Regions from separate parts of the Homo sapiens genome. Here regions 2, 3 and 4 are each linked to region 1. Evidence: promoter capture Hi-C in 16 types of primary human blood cells and fetal thymus (Javierre and others, 2016). All regions are on one chromosome and are shown on one strand. Each heading gives the region's core, a stretch centred on a gene start or on the middle of the fragment in contact. The rest is flanking DNA. Distances are from core to core; before and after follow the strand shown. Region 1 holds the start of FERMT1 (FERM domain containing kindlin 1). Region 2 has its middle 3.3 kb from the start of LINC00658. Region 3 overlaps LOC107985411 (a long non-coding RNA gene). Region 4 holds the start of LINC01729 (long intergenic non-protein coding RNA 1729).

The links. Contacts are between HindIII fragments. The CHiCAGO score rates a contact against its expected background, and 5 or more counts as called.
Region 2: a contact is called between a fragment that was not itself captured here and the fragment with the promoter of FERMT1 in region 1, in 1 of 17 cell types (total CD4 T cells). The highest score is 5.6, in total CD4 T cells.
Region 3: a contact is called between a fragment that was not itself captured here and the fragment with the promoter of FERMT1 in region 1, in 1 of 17 cell types (total B cells). The highest score is 6.3, in total B cells.
Region 4: a contact is called between a fragment that was not itself captured here and the fragment with the promoter of FERMT1 in region 1, in 1 of 17 cell types (total CD4 T cells). The highest score is 5.2, in total CD4 T cells.

Annotation. Positions count from the first base shown.
Region 1 is chr20:6,121,008-6,124,637 of GRCh38, reverse strand. FERMT1 (FERM domain containing kindlin 1) reads left to right here and starts at 1,608. Exons shown (of 15, transcript NM_017671.5): 1 at 1,608-1,864. RefSeq lists a silencer at 1,603-1,722. The HindIII fragment of the contact is 14,554 bases long and covers 1-3,630 here.
Region 2 is chr20:5,447,214-5,450,843 of GRCh38, reverse strand. No RefSeq gene overlaps it. Among named protein-coding and RNA genes, the nearest start is that of LINC00658, 3.3 kb to the right of the region's middle. The HindIII fragment of the contact is 1,590 bases long and covers 1,145-2,734 here.
Region 3 is chr20:5,463,789-5,467,418 of GRCh38, reverse strand. It overlaps LOC107985411 (a long non-coding RNA gene), which reads left to right. Exons shown (of 3, transcript XR_001754485.1): 2 at 2,490-2,632; 3 at 3,394-3,630. Among named protein-coding and RNA genes, the nearest start is that of LINC00658, 20 kb to the right of the region's middle. The HindIII fragment of the contact is 3,015 bases long and covers 102-3,116 here.
Region 4 is chr20:5,508,822-5,512,451 of GRCh38, reverse strand. It overlaps LINC01729 (long intergenic non-protein coding RNA 1729), which reads left to right and starts at 2,450. Exons shown (of 3, transcript NR_109860.1): 1 at 2,450-2,576. The HindIII fragment of the contact is 7,387 bases long and covers 1-3,630 here.

The sequences.
Region 1 (3,630 bases), core at 359-2,858:
ATTGAAAAGAGAAAAACCATATTGGTATGAATAGATAGAGCCATAATTCAAGGTCACACATAAAATCTTGACCACAGGCTGGGCACGGTGGATCACACCTGTAATCTTAACACTTTGGGAGGCCGAGGCAGGTAGATCACAAGGTCAAGAGATCAAGACCATCCTGGCCAACATCATGAAACCTGGTCTCTACTAAAAATACAAAAATTGTAGTCCCAGCTGCTCGGGAGACTGAGGCAGGAGAATCACTTGAACCCGGGAGGCGGAGGGTGCAGCAGTGAGCCAAGATCGTGCCACTGCACTCCTGCCTGGGGACAGAACAAGACTCCATCTCAAAAAAATATATGTGTGTGTGTGTGTGTGTGTGTGTGTGTGTGTGTGTTTGTGCGCGCGCGCGCGCGCGCACTGACCACAGTCTAAGTTCTAATGGGCCATAAGCAGGGTTTCATGATGTTAAGAGGTAGGGAAGTGGGACCAGATGACCCTTCCCATCGTTGACAAACGCTACCAAGTGAAGACATTCTGTTTCAAGTTTTTAATGATTTTATTTCAATTATAATATCCTATATTTGCCAACAATGTTCAACTAACCTTTTTAAATTAAATGTACTTTCAAACCCATAATAATTCCTGAATATGGTAATGTTTAAGCGAAAACAGATTCAACTTCTAAATTTTATAACTTCTTTATTAAAATTTAAGTGTTCACAAGCCTTTTAATGCAAATCGCTAAAGCCTGTACTATATTGCATGAAATCCCTCCGTGGAAGAGCACGCATTCTATCTCTGTACCTATTTCACAGATGAGGAAACTGTCATTTCCATGTCTGTTTTATTAACCACTGTATTCTCTGAGCCCAGGCCCATTGGGAGGCCTGTAGAGCAGTAAGCACTCAACAAATGTGATTAAATGAACAAAGGAGGCTTGGAGAGGTTGTGTAAACTGCCCAGGTCACCCACCCTTCCTGGGTGGCCCCAGCCCTCTTTGAAAATAAATCCAACAGGAAGGCGACTGGCGGGACCGGTGGTGATCCTGAGGTGAGCCATACCAGGTGTGGCCCAGACTTCCGCATGCAGCCTGCCCTTGGGTCTCCTGGAGTCTCCCCTGGTCGGGAGCCTCAGCCTTCTGGAGACTGACACCACCCTCTTACTCAGAGACGAATCGTTTTGTCGTTGCCTTCACCTCCCTGACCACAAGTGCTCCGGGGCTCTTTCTGAGGGAGGCAGCTGTTCTAGGCGGGAGGCTGGAGTCTCCTGGGCCTGGACGCACCCCGGGGTGTGAGTGATGGGTATGCCTGAAAGGAGGGGAAGTGGCGCGGCTTTAATCATCTGGGCTAGTCCCCGGCGGGCCTGGGGGAACAGGGAAACTGGAGGCGGCCTTAAAGCGTCAGGATGAGACATCGCAAGAGGAGCTGCAGATACTGAGCGTGCGCCCCGGGTTCTCGCCGCCTTCTCTCCGCCGAGCAGCCCTTCGGCCACCCTTTGCCCTTAAAAATCTGCAGACTGCGCCTCCTCTCCGCGGGAGCGAGACCTAGCAGGCCCGGGGCTGGGCGTGCCCTCGCCTGCCACGCTGCGCGCTGCCCTCAGCCGGGCCGCTGGGGCCGTGCAGTGCACCGGGCACGCCGCGCCAGGCTGGGGGCAGGCACCGAGCCTCCGTGGGAGGTCCCGAGGCAGCTTCGCCTGCTCGCCCTGGCTCCAGCCCTCACCTGCCGCAGCCTTAGCTGAGCAGCCGCCGCCACTGGGCGCCCCCCGCTCCCCACTTCGCCAGCGCCCGCTCCTCGGCTCGGCCCGGGGTAGTTTGTAGGGACGCAGCTCTCCACGTGCGCGACTGCGAGGCTGGACGCTACGGGCTCCTGGAAAGGAGGTGGGTGCTCCGGAGCTAGGGCTGGGGAGCTAGAGGTTGGGAGGCTTTCATGGGCACCAGTGGCTCCTGAGCCCCCTTAGCCCCTTTCTTTCTGCAGCCTCTTGTACTTAAATAGCTGTTGATTGAAAATAATTTCGTCTGGATGTGACCACCTTCTCCGGCCCTACGCATCTGGCCGCAAAATAAACTTTCAGTTCAGCCGCAGGTGCTGCCTTAATGGGAGTAAGGGGCATGCTTTATCCACCCAACATCCGCCCCAGGATCCTGCAGAGCTGGCAAAAGACAGGTCGGGTGGCCTTCGAACACCAAGCACCTTCAGATATTCCAGGGGAAGGGTCGGGGACTGTTTCCCCCTCATCTTTCCTCCTTCCTGCTCTCCATCCCTCCATGCTTTCGTTTCTTTGACTGTCTGCGAAGGGCTTTTCAGCACTCTGCCAGTAACTTTGCTTCTTGTTTTGGTCTCCTTAGATGCGTTTTCCCGGCTGAAGTTTGCTGCTATCCTTGACAAGTAACAGCTTGCTGCAGACTAGACGTTCACTCAAAAATGAAGGCACAGAAAGATAGGAAAGGAATGCAGGAAAACCAGCTTGGCTAATTTTAGCCTGCATTTTGTTGTAAGGGGAATCAGCATCTATTGCCTGAATGAGTAGTGTTTTGATCACCCAAGTTAGGAAAAGACCTTATATCAGATTGCCCAGTGAAATAAGCAGTAAGGAATCACCTTTAAAAGTTATTTTCTTTATATACAAAACATTTTAAATAACTAGACTTCACAATTATAGCATTTAAGAAATTGTAAGGATCTTAAAGTCGAACAGTTCAATGCCAAGTTATGAGTTTGACGATGAAGGGGCATCTTTTGTCTCCTCACTGCGCAAGATTTGTGTTGATAGAAATGCTTAGTAAAGGCTACTGAGAATTTAGTTCACGTAGTTTGAGGAGTTTTCTTTCATTTTGGCATTGCAACATTATCAAAGTGGTTTCCCAGTGTGGTGAATAAGAGTTTGAAATAGAAAGGCAGACCTGGATTTCCACCTGGGCTCCAGCATCTAACTTGCTGTGTGACCTCAGGCAACTTGCTTCATCTCTCTGAGGCTGAGTTTCCTCATTTCTAAATGAGATTGCTGAGAGGATGAAAAAGGGATAACAGAAGACAGGAGTTAACACAGAGCACATCATACAGTCAGTAGGTAATAAATGATACCTGAAGCTGATGATGACAGAGGCAAGCAGTTAGGCCTAATGCAGTCACTGAGTGGCACTCCTCATGCAGAGGGTTCTGTGTGGATCTCTGTGCATGGGGAGGAGATGCATTGCATCGTTGCATGCTTCTGACTATAGAAACATAAGGAACGGCTGGGCGTGGTGGCCCACGCCTGTAATGCCAGCACTTTGGGAGGCCAAGGCAGGTGGATCACGAGATCAGGAGTTCAAGACCAGCCTGGCCAGCATGGTGAAACCCTGTCTCTACTAAAAATACAAAAATTAACCGGGCGTGGTGGCACACGCCTGTAATCTCAGCTACTTGGGAGGCTGAGGCAGAGAATTGCTTGAACCCGGGAGGCAGAGGTTGCAGTGAGCTAAGATCATGCCACTGCACTCCAGCCTGGGTGACAGAGCAAGACTCCATCTCAAAAAAAACAAAAACAAAACAAAAACATAAGGAGCTACTTCTGAACTCTTGAATTTCATCCTCACCCATAAAATCTGTCCTAAATCTGTTCAGATTTGCAGTATTCAATTTATCTGTGTAGCGTATTTTGAGA
Region 2 (3,630 bases), core at 690-3,189, 670 kb after region 1:
ATTTTTTTGTAGAACAAATTTTATTTTAAAAATAGGGACGAGGTCTTGCTATGTTGTCCAGGCTGATGTTGAATTCCTGGGCTCAAGCAGTCCTCCCACCTTGGCCTCCCAATGCTAGATTACAGGCATGTGCCACCAGTAGTTTTCTTTAAATCAACAGAATAATAAATTTGGTCATGCTTCCAGCCCACCCACACAGGTAGACACAGCTTAGTTCAGTCTCCACATAGAGAAGACTCCTATATACGAAAAATGTAAAGACGAGGCATTCCTCCGCTTGCTTTCTGAGGACACCCTACCCTGTATTTGAGTAGCCGTCAATAAACCTTCCCTCCCCACTGAACTCTGTGACTTGCCTGGAATTCCCTCCTGCACGAGATCCAAGAACTTTCTCTTAGGGTCTGGATTGGGACCTCTTTTTTTTTTGGCAACACAAGGACATGCCAATTGTAACTTTAGGTCTACAAACTAAGTCTAGTTCTTAATTTCTTTTTTTTTTTTTTTTGAGACTAACTCTCATTCTGTCACCCAGGCTGGAATGCAGTGATGCGATCTCGGCTCACTGCAACCTCTGCCCCCTGGGTTCATGCGATTCTCCTGCCTCAGCCTTCCAAGTAGCTGAGATTACAGGTGCATGCCACCATGCCTGGCTAATTTTTTTTTTTTTTTTTTTTTTGAGAAGGAATTTCATTCTTATTGCCTGGGCTGGAGTGCAATGGCGTGATCTCAGCTCACTGCAACCTCCGCCTCCTGGGTTCAAGCGATTATCCTGTCTCAGCCTCCTGAGTAGCTTGGACAGGCATGCGCCACCACACCCAGCTAATTGTTGTATTTTTAGTAGAGATAGGGTTTCACCATGTTGGTCAGGCTGGTCTCGAACTCCTGACCTTAGGTGATCCACTTGCCTTGACCTCCCAAAGTGCTGGGATTACAGGCATGAGCCATTGTACCCGGCCTTAATTTTTGTATTTTTAGTAGAGATGGAGTTTCACCATTTCATCCAGGCTGGTCTCGAGTTCCTGACCCCAAGTGATCTGCCCGCCTTGGCCTCCCAAAGTGCTGGGATTACAGGCGTGAGCCACCGTGCCCAGCCTAGCTCCTAAAATTAAAGTTGATTCCATGCTGATAATGTTGATCGCAAGCTTAGATAGAAGTGCAGGTGCAGAATAAAGACAAGACTCATTCCTATACCTACCCAGAGACATCTGCATACTTGACTCTTCCTTTACTCTCTTTTTATTTTCAAACATCCAATTTGTCTTATGTAAAATGTAGATTTACCAGGCAGCAGCTAGAGTCTCACAGGAATGTAGCCATTCGCCTTACCACCTGTCTGCCCTTTTTCCTAAAAGCCTTTCCCCCATTTAAGGAAATGTGTAAATACTAAATCCCCTGAAACTCTCTTGAGAAAAACAGCCACAGATGTACCTGTGGCTTGTATTTTTCCCGGAAGCACCCTCAAGCTGACTTAATAAACCTCGATGATTGAGATTTATGCCTTGGTCATTCTATTCAGATGTCAGAAGGACCCATGGGAAGACTCAGAGAGAAAGGTCTGTAGGAAGAGGCTAAGGAGCCCAATCTTCTCCCAGAAAATGGACGCTTCGGGTGGTCATGAATTGTAGGGCTATTGGTACTGGGGTGAGTAAAGAGGAAGAGAAAGAGAGCAAGGCCCCAAGGAGAAGGGGAAACAGGGAGGGAGGAAGGGGCCATGCCCTGTCCTCCCCTCCTCCAGTGTCCCTGCCCCTCTCCAACTTCAGAATTCCCATTGCTCCTTGAGAACTCAGACACTAGCTTCCCCACCAAGGCCTCCTCCCTCTGCATTCCCCCAGCCTGTCCATTCTCGGTCACACTGACTCCGAGTCTGGTCAGCTGCCTGTATGCCTGTCTCACCCAGTTAACTTAAATTCCTTGGGGTCAGGAACAATGCTTTCTTCTTATTTTCCATGCCACAGCTCCAGTTACTGTGACTGACACACAGAAATATTGGCTTGGAGTCGATTATCTCAGGGATGCAGCTCAAAGTAAATGTGTCTTGTATAGAGTGGGCATAGGGATGCTTTAATGAGGAACGAGCAAGTCCCAAGAGGAGCAAGGAAAACTTGAGCTGCAACCACTTTGCATTTCAGATGATGAATTAGAGCGGTTGTTATCGAATCTGCCACCAGAGGGCGATCCAGGTAAAAAAGATCTTCGGGCTACTCTTCAGCCCGGTGACCTGATCTTCCCCCAAACTCAGATCCTTGCTGCCTCCCAGAAACAGCAGACACCTAAGTCCAATGTAGCTTGCCAGGATCTCAGGGAATGAAATTTTATAGTTTGCTGGCATTTTCCTCAGGGGAGCAGAGGCAAGAAAACAATCAAATCCAAGTTTGCGCCACTGCACACCAGCCTGGGCGACAAAGCAAGACTCCCGTCTCAAAAAAAAAAAAAAAAGAAAAGAAAAGAAAAGAAAAGAAAAGAAAGAAAACAATCAAATCCATGGTCTGCTGTTTACTGGATGAAGAATAAGACTGCCTAAAGGCAATGTGTTTAGTACAAAGGTGTCATAAGCTCTGAGATGGTTCCTGCTTTACCAATTTCTGGAAGTGTGACATTAAAGCAACCATTCTCTTTTCTGGGCCTGGTTTTCCTCTGTAAAATGTCAGTTCAAGTTCCAGCCTGTCTTGGGATGTCATCGGCCTTTACAACCTACTTGGGCTATGGCCCTGCGATTAAGTGCACAGTGGAAGCTTAGTCCCCTTGCTTTTCTGCCTCTCTTAGGGAACCACAGTCACAGAAACCAGCACTTGCTGCCATAGGAACTGCTAATATCTTGGACATTCCCTGTATTCTCTCCCAGCCCAAACAGGCATAGCCAGAGGAGTGAGACATGCAGAAAAATGAAAGAAGCCCAGGGCATTGTTCAGCAGTGAGCCTAAAGTCTGTACATGCGATAGCATAATATTTGTGAAAATTCTTGCAAAATGCAAAGCTGATGGCATATGACTTGTAACTCATTCTTGTATATAACAGTAGATCAACATGCAACTGAAGAAAGCACTACTCAGGATGGAAGTAGCCTTGGGAGGGAGGCAAGGAGTAGTGAGGAGGGAGAGAATGAGCTGTTTCTGTAACATTTCATTTCATAAGAGAGATGGATGGACTTCAAGCATCTGTGGCAAAAGGTCACCTCAGATAAATCTGATTGGTTCCAAATTATTTTCTGTAATCCTCCCTATGTTTGACTCATTATTTTAATTAAAAAGAAAAAATATTTAAAGTAATTTTAAAAATAACAGAGCTCACCAGCCCCTTAGAGCGCAGCTTGGTCTAGGGTAGTTTCTTTAACTAGCAGAGCTTTCTGTAGATACAGACATGCGTTCACAAAGTATCTTTAGGTTTCCCAGGCCCGGAGGGGTGAGATAATACTAAGGGAGGGAGATCTGCTCTTGGAGGAGGGACCTGCTCTAACCAGCCCTGTAGCTCTGCAAATCTTTGGGATTTTGTCCTTATCTGTAAATAGGGATGACGTTTGTCCCATTTATCTCATTCAGTTATAATGTGCATCAGATAAGATGATATTTGTAAAAACAACTTGAAAATACAAAATGATGTACACAGGTATTATTTAGTTGTGAAGCTCTAAGT
Region 3 (3,630 bases), core at 360-2,859, 660 kb after region 1:
GGGAGGAAACACCAGGCAGAAGCTGTATCCTCTTGAGCTAACCTTAGAAGTCACCTAGAATCACTCCCACCACACTTCACTGCTTGGAGAAGCCACAAGCTTCCATCCAGATTGATGGGGAGGGAAACTAGACCCCACCTTTCAGGAAGAGGAAGGTTAATCACATTGCAAGAAGAGCAGGTGGCATGGAATAAATGTATAGATGTGTCCATCTTGGGAAAATACGATCTGTCCCGGCAGTGTAGGGGAGGTGGAAAGTGGTGGTGCAGTGGCTAAAAGTGCAGGCTCTCTCAGGCCCCAGCCCGAGACAGGCCAATTCAGTCTGTCTGCAGGGAAGCCTTGGGAATCTGTACTTTCACAGGATGGGGCTGACATGCAAATGCAATGGGTGACCCTTTAGAATTACTGCCACATGAATTGAGGGTTTGAATTCTAGAGTTAGAAGAATTCTTTTGGACAAGTCCATTAACTTTTATTACTCTCAGCTTCCTCAGCCACAAAAGTGGCATCACGGTTCCTACACCATACGTGTATCATAAGGATTGAAATAGCATTCTTAACGGGCTTAGTGGAGTGCCTTGCATGTAGAAAGTGCCCCATAGATGGTATTATTATTGTTATCACTGTTTTCAAATTATGGGAATAGACATACCTGAAAAATTAGAGCACTGACAGCCCATTCTGGAGTTCTCAGGACACCAAGTCTCCATCAGACTCTGCCTTTGCATCTGGAGGCCAGCTGGAAGGCCAGACTGCTTTGGTGACAGGGAGAGGATGGCATGGCTGTCAGTGGATCTTGAGACTGAGAAGGTGCAGGGCTTGCTTATGGACCCCACAGTTGGAATGTGGAAGTGTCAGGTAAAGCCCAGGGATCCTGGGACCCCGACTTGTGTTCCACTGCTGGTCTCCTTCCCTCAAGTGCCCAGCTGGCCTCAAGTTTCCTCTCGTTGAGTGAGGCTTGTTGCCAGCTTCCTCACTCACCCTGGGGAAGCAGAAAGTCTCAAAATGCAGGCAGACACTGTGGGCAGGAAGGGCATCTCCTGTCACAGTGGGTGGTGCCTACATAGGCATAGGGGACTCCTGCGGGAACCACAGTATCGGGAGAGCTGGTGCCTTGTCACTGAAACCAGTGGAAAGAAACATTTACTTATAGAAGCTATGCAAACATACCTTTCATCACACCACTCTCCAGCTCCCTAACCCTCAATGGCTCCCCTGTGCCTTAAGAAAATCTAACTGTGGACCTTATAAGACAAAAATATACCTAAGCCCTCCAACCCAGGGAAAATAAACCAAGTGTTCTCCTTTAAGCACATCCCAAGCCCTCCTGTCTTTGTTCCCAGCTTCTCCCTACTGTCCTTCTTGCTCAGATCTTATTGTCATTGTCATTGCAATGACAGTAAGTTCCTTTCTCTCTTCTTTCCAGCCTCTACCGGCCACTGTGGCTCCAGAGTGAACTCCTCACATCTTCCTCTGAATTCTTCTAGAGTAACTCTGTAGCAGTCATCGACAGTAGGTCCCATTTCATCAGTAGGAAAAGCCTGTTTTTGTCTCCCTTTGAAGACTTTTCTGTCAGTCTGCCTTAGATTTTTCTAATTCCCTGCAGCTCCTGTTCAAAAACTGTTTCCCCCAATTGACTCATACAGTGCCCAAATTGTACACAAGCCAATGCAGATTTCAGAAATCCTATTGTCACAGGATCCTCTGGGTGTCGCTTCACCAGCTAGAAACCTCATGGCCGGCAGCGCCTCTACTTGAATATTGCTCACGCCCACTGGGTTCATTCCACCCATTCAGCCTGGCAGGCTGTGCCCAGCTTGCACTACCAGCCCAGATCCCATGCCTGCCGAGGGCAAGCCAGATGCAGAAAGGCGAAGGGTGTGTGAGTGAGCAAGTGCGGAGTGTGGCCCCTGCACACAGCCAGGCACGCCAACTGCCGCAGCAGGGCGGACGGCTCCAGGCACCGGCATAGGCACTGGCTCCATGCAAGGCTGCGGCTGGAGCAGGCATACTACAAGCGGCTTCTCCTGCAGTTGCCAGCATCTGGATGAAGGGAATGTGGTGGCTCCTGAAAACCTGGAGATGCCAGCAACTGCAGATCCTCTACGGGTTGGGGGTGCATGTTACAGCTCTCTCATTCCCACCACCCGCAGCGCGACAGCATGGCAAACAGCGGTGGGAGGCAATGTGTTTCAGCCCATTTGTGTTACGGCTTGTTCAATCCCATCACCCCAACTCCAGCCCACAGCTCCTGGGCTGGCCTGCCCCGCCACTGCTTCCTGTCACATCTGGCAGCCGCCCAGCACTGGTGGAGGGCGGGAGGGCTATAGTGTTACAGCTCTGGCTTGGGAATTCTGAGGTCTGCGTCCCCAGAAGGGTCACCACTCTTCACTCCCACAGTTTGGTGAACAGGGAAGCATATCACGACCTGCAGCTCAGTGAGCTGGCCAGGAAAGTGTTACAGCCCTTTTTGTGCACTCTGTTCGCAGGTCCTGAGTTGTTATCGCAAGTCCAGGAAGAATGAGGTTACTCAGGCAACTGGAGGGTGAGGATGGAGAAGAGCTTTATTGAGCAACAGAACAGCTCTCAGCAGAGAGGAGACCCAAAGTGGGTAGCTCCTACCTGCAGGAAGGTAATCCCAATGTGTGTCTGAGTCCTGCTGAGTCTAGGGGTTATTATAGGTGCAGAATGGAGGAAGTGCATGCTGATTGGTCCATGAGTGGGAGGAAGTGCATGCTGATTGGTTCAAGGGTAGGTCCAAAAAACCAGTCACCATCAACTGGCTGAAAGGCATCAAGGAAATTCTTACTCCCAGTCAGGGACTCCACCTGGAACTGGCAGCTTGGCCTCCAGGCTTCAGGCCATCCCTGGTTTGAAGGTTGGGCCTCACCAGGGACCCACCCCTTCCCACCTAGGTACCTGTCTGCCTCCTGCCACCATCACTATTGTTAAATCTCAGGGTGGAAGGCATGAGGGGTGGGCAATGGGAAGTGTAAATTTGTGAATTATCACTTTGGCTAAGTGAATGACTTAGTTTACAGTAATCTGTCATCCTATTTTATGATATCAAGTGTTTTGAACCTTTGATATTAGACAAACTTTTCAAAATCAAAGCTTCAAGTTCTAAATTTAGTCTTTTTGACCTTAAACTAACCTTTTAGATATTAATGTCCCTGAAAGTCCAAGAGAGACGTATTGGGTTTATTTGGTATGTTAAAATCCTAGAGAAAGCCTTGTCAAATATGAAACAGTGTTTGCCTTTCCTTGGATTATATTTTATGGGTGTTATTAATATGTCTTCCAAAATTGTATGAGATACATATAATTCTGATGTCTTAATGTATGTTATTAGTAATAATTATAATTATTATGTTAAATTTTTTTCTGTTACAGAAGTAATCAAATTTTCTTGCCAATTGTGTCTTTAACCATGGCTGATCTAAGACTGTTGCCATCCACAGACAATTATTGTTTTACTTTTTGATTCTTCTCAAAAAGAGGTTCATAATCAGCTGTAGACCAAAATTTGCTTCTATATGGAAATTCATGGAAAAGACTCTGACAAGTATTCTTAAATACAGGTTTCTGAAGGGGGCCAAGATGGCCCAATAGGAACAGCTCCAGTCTGCA
Region 4 (3,630 bases), core at 362-2,861, 610 kb after region 1:
GGGGTCTCTTAGGCATTGCAGGGGTTTGAATAGAGGCCCTAACACTGTGGTGGGGATAGTGCCAAAGAACTCCAACATGTATTTTATCAGGGGTTTAACATAAATATCAATTCTGGAGAAAATCGGCACCAGGAGTTAAAATCTCATTTAATCTTCTATAAGATGCTATATATGTGGAAAACAAAGTTAAGTGTCAAATTATTACCAAATTGCTGCAACAAATGACCAATGCAGCAATCCCGCATAGCTATAAGGGCTCAGGGAACAGAGGGGGTCACCATCACCCTGGGAGAAGGAGACAGCACAGAAGAAGGTCTGTGACTCAGCTCAAAGACAGGAAAATGGTTTTGTGGGCAGGCAATGAGGAAAGGGGGACAGAGTTGCAGTTTTCTGAGATAAAGCCTCTTAGGTGTTTTTTGACTACTTGATTGTTCCCTGTGAATGTATAAGTTTGATTTTAAAAATAAATAGAGAAGAGCCTCTTTCCTGACACCACCCAATCTCTGAGCCCCACAGATGATGTTCTAGTTTCTTGCAGGAGGTTCTGGTCCCACCTGCCTGCTCCCTTCTAAGACAACCCCACCAGCAAGGAGGTCTTCTAGTTCTTTCTGTGAGTGTTCTCTTGCTGGTCCTGGCTTGGGCCCCTGGGCCCAGGAACCTCTGGGTTCTCTCAGCTACACTTCCATCCGTGGTCCCCAACCTCAGTGTCCAGGATGCTGTGGCTGACCTCCTGGAGGGAGTGTGGCTCCTCACAGGTATCTACCTTGTAGTGCATCAGGCCAGGCCTCCTGCGGCAGCTCTCTGATGACCGAGTGTGGTGGGGATGCTAAGGCCAGGCTGGTTGCCCAGACCTACTTTGCTGCCTGACTGTTTCAAATAGTTGGTGAAGGCTCTGGATTTTCCTCAGAACTGTGGTCCGGAGTGCTCCCACCCCTTCTCTTCCCCTCTCTCCCTCACATTGGGAGTGAGACTTGCTTCATGGTCCGGTGGCTCTCCCAGTCTTTTGTAACTCTTTTCACAAAGGTATATCTCCCACTAAAACCCTTGCAATTTAATCCTGTCTTGGTGTCTGCTTCTCAGAAGAGCTGGATAACACACTCCAACCCTTCTCTCAGTCCCTGCAGCCCCTGTGGTGGGGTTGACTGTGGGTGACCACAGAGCCAGGCTGGCCTCGTCCAAACCGCAGGCTGCTACTTCACAAGGCCTGACCCCACTAAGAACTGTGTTTCTCCATGTTTCTGCTGGTCATATCCAGTGCATCTAGATTGCCTTTTTTTTTTGAGATGGAGATTCGCTCTTGTTGCCCAGGCTGGAGTGCAATGGCATGATCTTGGCTCACTGCAACTTCCGCCTCCCAGGTTCAAGCAATTCTCCTGTCTCAGCCCCCCGAGTAGCTGGAATTACAGTCATGAGCCACCACACTCGGCTAATTTTGTATTTTTAGTAGAGACAGGGTTTCTCCTTGTTGGTCAGGCTCGTCTCAAACTCCTGACCTCAGGTGATCCACCCGCCTTGGCCTCCCGAAGTGCTGGGATTACAGGCGTGAGCCACCATGCCTGGCTCATTTTTTTTTCTTTTTTAAGTAGAGATGGGGTTTTGCCATGTTGCCAAGGCTGTTCTGGAACTCCTGAGCTCAAACAGTCCTCCCACCTTGGCCCCCCAAAGTGCTGAGATTACAGGTGTGAGCCACCACACCCGGCCTGGACTACCAATCTTGATGGCAACATTAGACTGGGGGCCACTGTAGTCATAACAGTGGTGGACCAGGCAGCAGAGTCTTGTCTTCAGTACCATGGACACCGCAGCATCCAGTGCTAGCAGGTATTTTAGAATGCAGGGTCAGATGCATTCTAACCCTCCTCTGCCCTCCCTGAGAGGGCGACCCCAATCCTCCGCCCCTCCCTGCAGCTGCTAGGCAGGCCTCCTGCGCTCTTCACTGCCTCTAGCAGCGTCTTGAAACAGCTGGCTCTGGAAGGCATCCTGATTCTGGATTCAAGAGCTTTGCTTGGATTTCTGTATGAAGGTGTGAAGTGTGAATGCCACCTTTTCTGAGTTACATTTTCATTTTCTGTTGCAAACTTGGGACGTTTACTGAGGGACACTGAATAGTTGGGGGGTGGATGGGGCGAGGGAGGCAGTGGCTAGAAGGAAGGAAGGAAGCATTATAGCAGGGGGGCTCTCTGGGACAGGGCATAGGACAGAGATGGCTCCAGGAGGATTTCACAGGAAAGAATGAGGGGTGGGATGTAGTGATGTCACAAGAGTCCCACTGTGACCCCTCCCCCATCATTGGAGCAAGGACTGGCTAAGCCTGAGCAAGGGTGGGGGAAATAAATAAGGCACTGTTGCCAGGGCCTGAGCCCAGCAGGAAAAGGGTGTGTGCAGAGGGAGGGCCTCGGGTCCTGCTGCTCCTCCTGGACTCCTTCATCCCAATCCCTTCACATCCTTCTCTGACAAGGACTCCCACGTCCCTCCCCGGCTAACCTGGATCCTGCTCAACCCAACACCTGCCTTCTCTCGGTCCCTGGGTTCCCGCAGGCCTTGGGGCCCCACAGTCATATCTGCTGTTCCTGCAGGTCAGTGGCCAGGGTGGGGGTGGGTGTTGGTGCAAAGGAAACCTCTTGAAAGGGGCAGAGCACAGATGGGGCCTCCACCAGTCTTGCTGGGTGAGGGCTTCCCACCATCCTGGAATCCTCTCCTGGGTCTCTAGTTGACCACCCTCCTGCCTCCCCTTTTTCCTTGTTTTGGTCCTGCTGTTGGATTTCTTTTAAAATCCTCCTGCCTCCAGCCTCCCTTGATGATCAGTTCCTGCCTGGGGTCACCAGGCTGCTTCAAATTGGGGTGACCATGGTAGGGATGGTGACTTGAGATTCCTGGGCCATAATGCAGGTGAGAAATGTGCCCTACAGAGTAAAAAGGAACAGTGTCACTGCTGGGTCATTTTGAAGATGGGACTTAGGCAACACATGTCCCTTAAATCCAGTCTCTGAGGGTACCACAAATACCATGTTTTTTTTTTCAAATTCTAGCAGAGAGGTTGTACTGGGTTGAGAGAGAGGCCTCAGAATCAAGACCTTGTCTCCTGCCACAGTTTCCCTGGTGAAGCTCCCAGGCTGAGCACAAACTTCCAGGTCGAGCACAGAAGTTTCGACCTGGAAACTTCAGCCCTCAGAGAGGAGGTGGCACTAACGCTCTAGGTGGGCGGCTGCTCTATGGTCTTCTGCTGCCTGGAGAGCTTTGCCTCCATCACTGGTGCCCACCTGGGGAATGCTCAGGAACTACTCTTCAAAAGTACACTCGGATGCCCACTCTGCAAAGCCATTTTGTTTCCTTATTGTACCTCTGAAATCATTTGTTAACCAAGCATTTGCAAATCCGTCTGTCTTCTGTGTATGGCATATCTATAGACACTGCGGGTGAAAAACAAGGGCAAGACTCGATTCCTTTTCTTGCTTGCTTGCTTGCTTTCTTGCTTTCTTTGCTTTCTTGCTTTCTTTTCTTTTTTCTTCTTTTTCTTTTCTTTTTTTTTTTTTTGGAGACAGTTTTGCTCTTGTTGCCCAGGCTGGAGTGCAATGGTGCAATCTTGGCTCACTGCAACCTCCGCCTCCAGGGTTCAAGCAATTCTCCTGT